Linked DNA regions of Homo sapiens: all the other regions are linked to region 1. Evidence: promoter capture Hi-C in 16 types of primary human blood cells and fetal thymus (Javierre and others, 2016). All regions are on one chromosome and are shown on one strand. The core of a region is centred on a gene start or on the middle of the fragment in contact, and the rest is flanking DNA. Distances in the headings are between cores, read along the strand shown.

The links. The method cuts DNA at HindIII sites, captures the fragments that hold promoters and counts their contacts. A CHiCAGO score of 5 or more calls a contact.
Region 2: a fragment that was not itself captured here is called in contact with the fragment with the promoter of SPATA32 in region 1 in 1 of 17 cell types (neutrophils); the score reaches 6.5 in neutrophils.
Region 3: a fragment that was not itself captured here is called in contact with the fragment with the promoter of SPATA32 in region 1 in 15 of 17 cell types (activated CD4 T cells, monocytes, non-activated CD4 T cells and 12 more); the score reaches 12.1 in activated CD4 T cells.

The regions. Positions count from the first base shown.
Region 1 is chr17:45,260,161-45,263,919 of GRCh38, reverse strand. It overlaps SPATA32 (spermatogenesis associated 32), which reads left to right and starts at 1,826. Exons shown (of 5, transcript NM_152343.3): 1 at 1,826-1,916. The coding sequence starts at 1,904. MAP3K14 (mitogen-activated protein kinase kinase kinase 14) reads left to right here. Exons shown (of 16, transcript NM_003954.5): 16 at 1-801. All of the region lies in intron 2 of MAP3K14-AS1 (MAP3K14 antisense RNA 1), which reads right to left. RefSeq lists enhancers at 785-1,388, 1,823-1,912, 1,389-1,994 and silencers at 1,943-1,992, 2,063-2,182. The HindIII fragment of the contact is 9,151 bases long and covers 1-3,759 here.
Region 2 is chr17:45,119,847-45,123,605 of GRCh38, reverse strand. It overlaps PLCD3 (phospholipase C delta 3), which reads left to right. Exons shown (of 15, transcript NM_133373.5): 2 at 2,234-2,395; 3 at 2,476-2,704; 4 at 3,152-3,281. Among named protein-coding and RNA genes, the nearest start is that of MIR6784, 7.3 kb to the right of the region's middle. RefSeq lists an enhancer at 2,300-2,837. The HindIII fragment of the contact is 925 bases long and covers 1,185-2,109 here.
Region 3 is chr17:45,404,416-45,408,174 of GRCh38, reverse strand. It overlaps ARHGAP27 (Rho GTPase activating protein 27), which reads left to right. Exons shown (of 20, transcript NM_001282290.2): 5 at 2,092-2,499; 6 at 3,069-3,251; 7 at 3,494-3,574; 8 at 3,647-3,730. Among named protein-coding and RNA genes, the nearest start is that of ARHGAP27, 27 kb to the left of the region's middle. The HindIII fragment of the contact is 9,114 bases long and covers 1-3,759 here.

The DNA of each region.
Region 1 (3,759 bases), core at 577-3,076:
GCTACCACTCTTCCCCAGAGCAGCAGGCCCCGAGCCCCTTCAGGCCCAGCACTGCCCCAGACTCGCTGGCACTCAGTTCCCTCATCTGTAAAGGTGAAGGGTGATGCAGGATATGCCTGACAGGAACAGTCTGTGGATGGACATGATCAGTGCTAAGGAAAGCAGCAGAGAGAGACGCTCCGGCGCCCCAGCCCCACTATCAGTGTCCAGCGTGCTGGTTCCCCAGAGCACAGCTCAGCATCACACTGACACTCACCCTGCCCTGCCCCTGGCCAGAGGGTACTGCCGACGGCACTTTGCACTCTGATGACCTCAAAGCACTTTCATGGCTGCCCTCTGGCAGGGCAGGGCAGGGCAGTGACACTGTAGGAGCATAGCAAGCCAGGAGATGGGGTGAAGGGACACAGTCTTGAGCTGTCCACATGCATGTGACTCCTCAAACCTCTTCCAGATTTCTCTAAGAATAGCACCCCCTTCCCCATTGCCCCAGCTTAGCCTCTTCTCCCAGGGGAGCTACTCAGGACTCACGTAGCATTAAATCAGCTGTGAATCGTCAGGGGGTGTCTGCTAGCCTCAACCTCCTGGGGCAGGGGACGCCGAGACTCCGTGGGAGAAGCTCATTCCCACATCTTGCCAAGACAGCCTTTGTCCAGCTGTCCACATTGAGTCAGACTGCTCCCGGGGAGAGAGCCCCGGCCCCCAGCACATAAAGAACTGCAGCCTTGGTACTGCAGAGTCTGGGTTGTAGAGAACTCTTTGTAAGCAATAAAGTTTGGGGTGATGACAAATGTTTCCAGGCCATCGGTGTCCTCTCTCTTGCCTGCCGGCCTGCTGAACCTCACGACCCTAACAGCTGCCTCTCTTTGCCTTCTTGCTGAGATCTTTTCAAGTCCCCCTTGTTTTGGACAAGGACTGTTTCAGCCCTTGAGTGGGGCTGCTTTCCCACCACTCCTCCCAGTGGCTGCTTCTAGTCCCAACGCTGGGCTAGTCATTCAGACCAGTTAGGCAAGATACCTTGCCCGGTGGCATCAGGGAAGTCCCTCGCCAAAATATGCCAGGCTGAGGGGTGGAGGAGGAGGACAACAAAGCCTGCATGCTTTGTGCCACTGCCCAAGTTAGGCAGCCCCCTACCACCAGAAGGGAAATAGGGATGGGTTCTGGGCCCTGACCATCCAGGGATGCCGGATGCACACCACAGGCCCTCCACCCTCCCCTCCTGTCCTTGAGGCCTGGACTCTTAACCCTTTCCGCTGCCTCCTGAGCCCTGCATGGGGCCAGGGATGCCTTTGTGGGCTGAGTTCCTTGGTCATGGAGCTGGGGCACACGGGGTGCTGAGTTCCTTGGTCATGGAGCTGGGGCACACGGGGTGCTGAGTTCCTTGGTCATGGAGCTGGGGCACACGGGGTGCCTTATCGAATCTGGCTCCACACTCCCTGTGTGCACAAGTGTGTGTGCGCGCGGCTTGGGTTGGTTTAGCCGGTTCTTGGAAGGGCCCTGGGACCACGAAAAGGGCGGCAGCCCTGAGCCGCTGGCGTGCAGAGCGGGTGCAAGTCCTGTCCAGCACAGCCAGGCTTACCTGCCGCCTGCCTCTCGCTCTAGGCCCGCTGCGGAAGCGCGAGCCCCACCCCCGAGGTCTTCGGAGAGGAAGGAGTTCTGGCTTCGGGCCCGCAGCCTTCGGAGGACGCCTCACTCGGGCCGTCCCCCGTCCGCCCGCCCGAAACCTAAATGCGGCTCCCTGCCTGTGGGGTCGCGGCGGGGACGTCACAGAGGCGGCGACATCACAGGCACCGGCGCCTCTAATATTTCCAGCGCCCACCAGTCCCTCAGCCAAAGAGCACACTGGAGGCGGAGAGGCAGCATCCACCAGCCCGCTCCCCGCCTCCAGGACAGAGCCTCGGTCTGCATGGGGGTGACAGGTGGGAGCGGCCGAGCGCCCGGGGGCGAGGGTTGGGGCAGGCGGGGAAAGCGAAAGTGAGAGGGGGAGGGGCGCGAAGGGGGCGGTCAGGAATCCGCCCAGGGCCCGTTCCCCTGCTCCCAAACCCCCGGCACCTGAAAGGCAGGTCGACCCGCCGCCAAAGCCCACCCGGTGCCCCTGACTACGGCTCCCAGCCTCAGCCCCTGCGCGGTGCACACCCATGTGCTCTCACGGACACGCATGCGCGCCTTGGAGTAGGGACTGCAGAGTCAGTGGTTCTTGAAGGGGTTCTGAGACCACAGAAGGAGCAATGGCCTTGTGCACAGGAAACGACTCATGAATTATCCTGAACTGCAGATCCAAAAAATCACATCCAGTTGTCCCTCCTTGATGCTTGAGGCTTTGCAGGGAGGAGCGGCAGTCTTCAGCACATTTTTACGGAGCGCTTCGTTGATGCCTTGTACTCTTCTCTGAACCAATGAGCAAAGATGTTTGCCCCCAGTGCCCTGTGTCTCCCCTTCCCATAGGGGCGTCAGATCCCCCACTGAAATGGTGGCTTTCTTTTGGGGATCCTCTCTCCCAGAAGGGCATGGGCCAGCATTAAAAACGGTCAAAAATTAGGTGGGCATGATGGCTCAACGCCTGCAATCCCAACACTTCGGGAGGCAGAGGTGGGAGGATCACATGAGGCCAGGAGTTCAAGATCAGCCTAGGCAACATAGCGAGACTTTGTCCTCTACAGGAAATGTTTAAAATTAGACAGGTGTGGCGGCATGAGCCTGTAGTCCCAGCTACTTGGGAGGCTGAGCTGGGAGGCTCACTGGAGCCCAGGAGTTGCAGTGAGCTATGATGCTGCCACTCCAGCCTGGGCCACAGAGCAAGACCCTGTCAAAAAAAAAAAAAAAAAAACCAGAGGTCGGGTGCAGTGGCTCACGCCTGTAAGGTAAAACGTAGATTAGACAGCCAGGTCTGTCATGGAGAGGATTACACTGATTATTTGAATTGGGCTTTCAGGCATGAGTAGGACTTTGCCAGAAGAAGGCTTTCCAGGTATAAGAAATAGCATTTGCAAAGGCACTGGGTGCAGAAAGGCCTGCGGTACTCTGGGGGTAGCTTCGGCTTAGGGTGAGGGACAGGAAGCTGGATGCCAAGAGATGAAAAATGAAGGTAGAGATCAGACCAAGAGGCCACATGGAGTCTGGGGGTAACCGGAGACAAGTGAGATGTAGCAGGCTCACTCTGAGGTCATTGAAAATCCAGGTTGGAGGGGGACATAGTTGCAGTGGTCCCACTGGAAGACTAAAGAGATTTAAGACAGTGCAGTGAGTAGCATCCCAGAGTTTGGAGCCAGCCAGACCTGCCTTTGGGTCGTGTGCTGCTCTTAATAGCTGCATGACCTCATACACGTTTCCTCATCTGTGAGAGGAGAGCCGTGGCCAACTGGGCATAGGGTAGGTATGAAGACTGAATGTGCAAAGCACTCAGCACCAAGTGCCAAAGGGTAGGAAGTCATGGGTGTGTGCTGGCTCTGGTACTGGGAGATGAGGACAGCATCAGGGGTAGGAGGGCAGTAGCTGCGGAGGGAGGAGGAGTCACAAATGACCCAGGTTTCTCATTTGGGTGAAAGGATGAAGGATGAATAGGGCGAGGAGAGTGGGGTATGGAGAGATGACAGACTAGAAAGGGAGACAGGGGTCAGACAGGCAGAACCGTGGCAGCCACACTTAAGAGTCTGGACATACAAGATATGAATTTGAGGTAAGAAATTAGGCCAGGCATGGTGGCTCACGCCTGTAATCCCAACACTCTGGGAGGCCAAGATGGGAAGATCGCTTGAGCTCAGG
Region 2 (3,759 bases), core at 398-2,897, 140 kb after region 1:
CAGCTAAGGTTGAGAAACCCTGACCTGCGAGGCCTCTGCCCTGCGAGGCCTCTGTCCTGAACTCTGGACAGATGGGGCAGAGCTGGGGATAGAATTCACTTAGTCCCCCCATCTGTCCGTCTACCTGTCTGCCCCTTCAGTCAACACTAGCTGGTATCCTGGCTCTGGGATGAGCACTGTGGTGAGGAGATAAGACCTCATTCCGCCCTCAGATTTATTAAAGTATATAGGTGGGTTTTGTGTTTTATTTTAATTAAAGCAAAAAGTGCTGTTAGTGGTCAGAGAGGGAGAATGTCCACTTGAGGACAAATCAAGGAAGGGTTCCTGGAGGAGGTGATATCTGAACTGGTCCTTCAAGGACTCAGATAGGAGGAAGAGAAGGGAGAAGGATCCTACAAAAGGGTCCAAGAGAGGGTGAGAGGAGATGGTCCAGAGATATAGACTCAATTCCTTAGGTCAGAATTTGCAATTGGGCAAGCCAGGGCCTTGGGGTCACAAAGCCAAACCCAGTATTAGGGGCTTGTCGAAATAAAGGGAGGAAGAGAGGCCCTCTGTCTTACTTCTTTTGGCCCACACAGGGGTTATTGATTTTTATTTTTTTTCAATTTGATTTCGTTGTCAACATTAGAATATCTGGAGGCTTCACACACAGATCTATATTCGGTTCTCTGGAAACTCTGGGCCCTCATTCACTCCGGGCTGTGCCCCACCTCCAAAGGCCATGGACTCTCCGTTTACCCAGTTCCCACCTCCTCTATTGTCCTCTGACTCAAAAATCTTTGGTTGTGACTCTCGTTGAGGCATTGTAGAGCAGGGTGTGGCACTGTTTGGGCTGGGCATCACGTGTTCCAGGGGGCCAGAGCCAGGAGAGGGCCGAAACTCTCCGGGGCACAGTGTCGGTCACGCTGTAGAAACCTCTGAATTTTGGATTTTGCAGCAGGTATGATTGTGGTCTCCATTTTATGGATGGAGAACATGAGGCTTAGTGACAGGTTAGTGCCACTGGGGCCATGTATTAAATAACTGGGAAGTGACAGTGTTGAGACTTACTCCCCAGACTTCGGAATTTAGAAGCACTAGAAGAGCCGTGCAGTGCAGGGCCAAAGGTCAGAGGCGCTGGACCCCGACCTCCAGAGCCCAAAGTGGCTTCTACCAGTATGGAATTCTGACAACTTACTTAAGCTTCCCTGAGCCTCAGTTTCCTTGTCTATTAGTACATGAGCAGGGCCTGCACACAGGAGATGCTTTTATTTATTTATTTTTTAGAGACAGAGTCTCACTCTGTTGCCCAAGCTGGAGTGCAGTGGCGCAATCTTGGCTCACTGCAACCTCCGCCTCCCGGATTCAAGTGATTCTCATGCCTCAGCCTCCCATGCCTGGAGATCAGCTGGGCAGGGCTGATCCTGGAGTCCTTGGCCTGTGACCCTGGAGCCAGGGTGGCCTCTGCTGTCCTCCTTGTCTTTGGGAAAGCAGAGGCAAGGTGCTTGGGTTACAGCAAGAGAGATCTAGGTTAGATGGTGAGACCTTCCTGATGGCTACGGTTTCACATCAAGGGAAAAAGGCTGTTGGTGGCAAATTCTGGACTTGAAGGCTGGAAGCCATGTGGTGGGGGATAGTGGCAGAAAAGGCAATTTTTTTTTTTTTTTGTTAAGACGCAGTCTCACTCTGTCGCTTAGGCTGCAGTGCAGTGGCACAATCTTGGCTCATGGCAACCTCAGCCTCCTAAGTAGCTGGGATTACAGGCATGTGCCACCACACCCAGCTAATTTTGTATTTTTAGTAGAGGTGGGGTTGCACCATGTTGGCCAGGCTGGTCTCGAACTCCCGACCTCAAGTGATCCACCCACCTCGGCCTCCCAAGTGCTGAGATTATAGGCGTGAGCCACCGCGCCCTGCCAGAAAGGGCAACCTTTAGTGAGGCCTGAGTCCCAGGCATTGTCCGAGGGCAGTTCCACACTGAGGGACTGCAGAGGCCGCTGCTTGGAAGGAAGGAGGGAGATGGGGTACGGGTTGGGGGGCGTTTAGGGCTCCAAAGCCTAAAGCCAAACCCAGTGCAGGAGGCTTCTTACAATCGGGGAGGAGGGGAGTCCTGTGAGGGGGAGGGAAGCTTACTGTGGGATGAAGGCCTGGGTTTGGAGAGGCTGGAGGATGGGGCAGCAGGTCCTAGCGGGGGAGGGCAGGGGAGCCTCTGGGCAGGTACGGCCTGACGCCCCGGGTCCTCCCGCCCCGCCAGGCCTGACGGAGGACGAGGACGTGCGCGCCATGCTGCGGGGCTCCCGGCTCCGCAAGATCCGCTCGCGCACGTGGCACAAGGAGCGGCTGTACCGGCTGCAGGAGGACGGCCTGAGCGTGTGGTTCCAGCGGCGCATCCCGCGTGCGCCATCGCAGCACATCTGTGAGAGGCCGGGGAGCGCCGGGCGGACAGGGAGGTGGGGACAGGCCCGGTCCTCCGCCCTGACCCGGCCCTCCTCTCAGTCTTCGTGCAGCACATCGAGGCGGTCCGCGAGGGCCACCAGTCCGAGGGCCTGCGGCGCTTCGGGGGTGCCTTCGCGCCAGCGCGCTGCCTCACCATCGCCTTCAAGGGCCGCCGCAAGAACCTGGACCTGGCGGCGCCCACGGCTGAGGAAGCGCAGCGCTGGGTGCGCGGTCTGACCAAGCTCCGCGCGCGCCTGGACGCCATGAGCCAGCGCGAGCGGCTAGACCAATATCCTGCCGGGGCTGGGAGGGAGGGCCCCATCCTTGGAGAGCCCTAACCTTGGAGAGCCCCATCCTTGGAGAGCCCCCACGCCCAGGGAAGGCAGGGCCCTGTCCTGAGGGCGCACGGTCTGGGTCGGAGCCCTTGGTCTTCGAAACTGAGGGTGGGGACACGCGCCCTGGCTAGGCCCAAGCTCCCACCAGGAGGGGTGGCGCGGCGCCTCCTTCAGGGAGGCCTGAGGCCTTCTGAGGGTGAAGACAGGGCCTCCTGTCTTTGGTAAGCCCCAGTCCTGCGGAGGAGACACTGCTACCGTGCTCGGGGAGTGCACAGGCCAAGGGGAAAGTACAGCCCCTAAACTGGGGATCCCCCAGACCCAGGTGGGGGTGACTTACCAGCCAGTTACCTGAGGGCTGGGGGCAGCCTGGCGTGTTGCTGTTATTTCCTGAGCACCCACACCTGGATCCACTCCTATCTGCACCGGGCTGACTCCAACCAGGACAGCAAGATGAGCTTCAAGGAGATCAAGAGCCTGCTGAGAATGGTCAACGTGGACATGAACGACATGTACGCCTACCTCCTCTTCAAGGTGGGCTTCCGCCCTGAACCCCAGCCCCTGGCTCTGCCATCACTCTGACCTCTGCCTGCCCCCAGCCATCTGAATCATCAGCTCCCCTGCCCTCTCCACCTGCAGCTTTTTTGGAGCGAGCAGCCTTTCCCTGCACAAAGGCAACATCTGGGGTTAGTTAGCCTTTTGCCTCCCCTGAGGCCACTGGGCCAGGAAGGGAGTGGGGAGCCGGGGCCCAGAACTTTCCTCATCCTCAGTTCCTACCCCTCCAAAGTGAGCAGCAAAGCTGTTTTCATTTCCCTGAGTCTGCAAGGCACCTTTTGCACGTGGGGGCACAGGCAGGAGCCAGCCTACAGGTGTGCATGTGCACGGATACACGTGTGCACCCTTCTCCACGCAGACCCTCCACTGTGGCACGTGTTGGCACCTCATGCATGGGAGCACAGGGGCACACAGGAGTGGGCTCTGCAGCTATGGCCCAGCTGGAGCCCATGGCAGA
Region 3 (3,759 bases), core at 662-3,161, 140 kb before region 1:
TTGGTTTGCTTTTTTGGCATCAGTTTGGTGAAAAATGAATTTTTTTTTTTTTTTGGCATCTGCCTAAGGCTCAGGGAGAGACCACCCTGAACAGGTGCTTCCTCTTTCGAGGAGTTTACAGCTTAGTGATGGTGTCACAGTCAGCAGAGGAACTTCTGTGAATTTTTAAAAGTTTTGTAGTACAAAATTTTGAGGCTGCAGGAAAGTTCAAAGAAAACAAAACAAAAACAAACCCCTATAATCACAGTGCTCAGAAGGGACCTCTGTTAGCATTTTGGAAAGTTTCCGAAAACACAAAATTGAAATGTGGAAATCTGCTTTCCCCTGAAGTATTGTGTATGCTTAGAAAATAGTAGTAATTGGCCAGGTGCGGTGGCTCACACCTGTAATCCCAGCACTTTGGGAGGCCCTGGTGGGCGGATCACCTGAGGTCAGGAGTTCAAGACCAGCCTGGCCAACAGGGCAAAACCCCATCTCTACTAAAATACAAAAATTAGCCAGGCGTGGTGGTGCGTGCCTGCAATGCCAGCTACTTGGGAGGCTGAGGCATGAGAATCGCTTGAACCCAGGAGGCGGAGGTTGCAGTGAGCCGAGATCACACCATTCCACTCCAGTCTGGACGACAGAGCGAGACTCCATCTCAAAAAAAAAAAAAGAAAAAAAAGAAAAAGAAAAAGAAAAGAAAAGAAAATAGTAGTAATCTCCGTATGCCATGCTGCTGCCTGGGGTTTGAGAATGTAGTCATCTGTCCCTCTGTGGGGCCAAGGGTGCTGGGCTGAATGTGGGGGCACGGGGATGGGGGGAATCTCAGGAAAAGGCTGGAACCTGGCACCTCAGCTGAATCCTGAAGAAGGAATTGGAGTCAGCCAGGCAAAAAAAGGGGTGGAGATGGGCCTGGGCAGGCTGCAGATGAGCCTAGGCCTGGAGGAAACACAGCAGGGACGGTGGGGACCTCTAGCAACTGGTGCTACTGGAGCTTAAAGTTCAAGGCAAGGGGCAAGGAGTGGCAGGAAATAATAGTGGAAGCACAGGCCGGTGAGGGACGGTCTCTTGTGCCTGGTTAAGGGCTTAGACTTTGCCCTGCAGCCAGCAGGGAGCTCTGAGGTGTGAATCAGGAGAGCCTCTGTTCCGGGAGGCTTACGCATGGCTAGGTTTATGTTCTATGTGATTGAACCCCCAGCTGCCCTCACTCTCCTTTGGGGTGGAGTAAAACAATTCACCTCTCTTTGCCCCTCCATTCTCCAGCCCATCTGGCTGTCCTGTCTCCCTCTCTTGTCTGGAATTGGTTCTGACACCTGCAAACTTCACCTTGGAAAGTTCAGTCCCCAAATCCAGACAGGGTGCTGATTCCAATCCCAGAGCTTTCTGGGCTGAGAGTGGGGTGGGGTGGGAGCTCTCAGTGGAGCTGTAAGAATGCAGCTTGAATCCAGGAGGTGGTGGTTGCAGTGAGCCAAGATTGCGCCACTGCACTCCAGCCTGGGTGACAGAGCTAGACCCCATCTCAAAAAAAAGAATGCAGCAGGGCCCTGAATGGGCACCATAAACAGGGGCACGCCCCAGACCACTTCTCAGTTCCTGCCCAACCTCTGACTTGCCTCTGTGAGTGCACAGTTGTGAGAACTGGGTTATCGATGTTTTATTATTATTGATAAATATAATTAATGTAATTGACCCACCCGTCTGGGGCACTAAATACTTTACAAAGTACTTTCAAGAGCATTTCCTCATTCACTCTTCACTACAGTTTCCGGAATGGACAGAGCAGACATTTTACACCCAGGAAACTGAGGCAGAGAGGTAGTGTGACTTCCTGAAGGTCGCCCAAGGGGCTAAAGCTCAAGAAGAGGCCACTTCTAACAGGCACTTCCCCTTTCAAGGAGTTTACGGCTTAGTGATGGTGTCACAGTGAGCAGAAGAACTTACGTGATTTTTAAAATGCTTTGTTGTACAAAATTTTGAGGCTGCAGAAAAGTTTAAAGAAAATAAAGCGAAAACAAATAAACCCCTATAATCGCACTGCCCAGAGGGGACCTCTGTTACCATTTTGGAAGGTTTCTGAAAACACAAAATTCCTCCTTTCTCCTCCCGCAGGTGGACGACCCACCGGAGCCCGTGTACGCGAACATAGAGAGGCAGCCCCGGGCCACTTCACCGGGCGCCGCTGCAGCCCCCCTTCCCAGCCCGGTGTGGGAGACGCACACGGACGCGGGCACCGGGCGCCCCTACTACTACAACCCAGACACGGGAGTTACCACCTGGGAGTCGCCCTTTGAGGCTGCCGAGGGTGCCGCCAGCCCAGCCACCTCCCCTGCCTCGGTGGACAGCCACGTGAGCCTTGAGACCGAGTGGGGCCAGTACTGGGATGAGGAGAGCCGCAGGGTGTTCTTCTACAACCCGCTGACGGGCGAGACGGCCTGGGAGGACGAGGCCGAGAACGAGCCCGAGGAGGAGTTGGAGATGCAGCCGGGCCTGAGCCCTGGCAGCCCAGGGGACCCGCGGGTGAGGGGCAGGGCCAGAGTGGGCGGTTCTACCTCTGAGCGCCTCTGATCCCGCCTCCTGCTCCCAGAGGCCCAGGGACACACGGGTGAGGGGGTGGTGATGGGTGGGCGGGGCTACCTCTGAGAGCCTTTGACCCCTTCTCCTGCTCCCACAGACCCAGGGACCCCAGGGTGAAGGGCGGGGCTGGAGTGGGCGGGGCTACCTCTGAGCGCCTTTGACCCCACCTCCTGCTCCCACAGACCTAAGGACCAGAGGGTGAGGGGTGGGGCAGGATGGGTGGGGCTACCTCTAAGCGCTTCTGACCCCGCCTCCTGTTTCTGCAGACCCAGGGACCAGAAGGTGAGGGGCAGGGCTGGAGTGGGCGGGGCTACCTCTGACGCCTTCTGCTCCCACAGCCCCAGGGACCAGAGGGTGAGGTGCGGAGCTACCTCTGAGCGCTTCTGACCCCGCCTCCTGCTCCCACAGCCTCAGGGACCAGAAGGCAAGGGGGTGGGCCTGGTCCAAAACGGCAGGGCCAGCAGGCAGTACTGGCACTCAGAGCCTCTGACTCCACCTTCTGTTCCCCGCAGCCCCCCACTCCCGAGACGGACTACCCCGAGTCGCTGACCAGTTACCCCGAGGAGGACTATTCTCCCGTGGGCTCTTTCGGTGAGCCCGGCCCTACCTCTCCCTTGACCACACCCCCCGGCTGGTCTTGTCATGTCAGCCAGGACAAGCAGATGCTCTACACCAACCACTTCACTCAGGAGCAGGTAGGGGCAGGGGGCAGATGGACCCGGACAGCCTCAGAGTCCTCCCCACAACCTTCCTCACTAATAGGTCGCCTCAGTGCTCTAAACCGCAGCTCCCACACAGAGCCTAAACCAGCCAAACACAGTCACCTGCACCTGCCCCTCCAGACTCCCTGGTGCTGTCTTGGAACCTGGTTAGAGGGAAACTTTTCCTCCCCTCTCATAAGCTGGGCTGGAGGCCCTGACCATTCCTCTCCCCACAGTGGGTGAGGCTGGAGGACCCCCACGGGAAGCCATACTTCTACAATCCAGAGGACTCCTCTGTTCGATGGGAGCTGCCCCAGGTAACAACCTGGGGAAAGGGGGGTGTTGGGGAGAGAGGAAGAGATCATATACGACTGTGTCTTTCTCCCCAGGTCCCTGTCCCTGCCCCTCGAAGCATCCATAAATCCAGCCAGGATGGTGACACCCCAGCCCAGGCCAGCCCTCCAGAGGAGAAGGTAGGGGAGGAGCCATTGAGGTCCTGGCA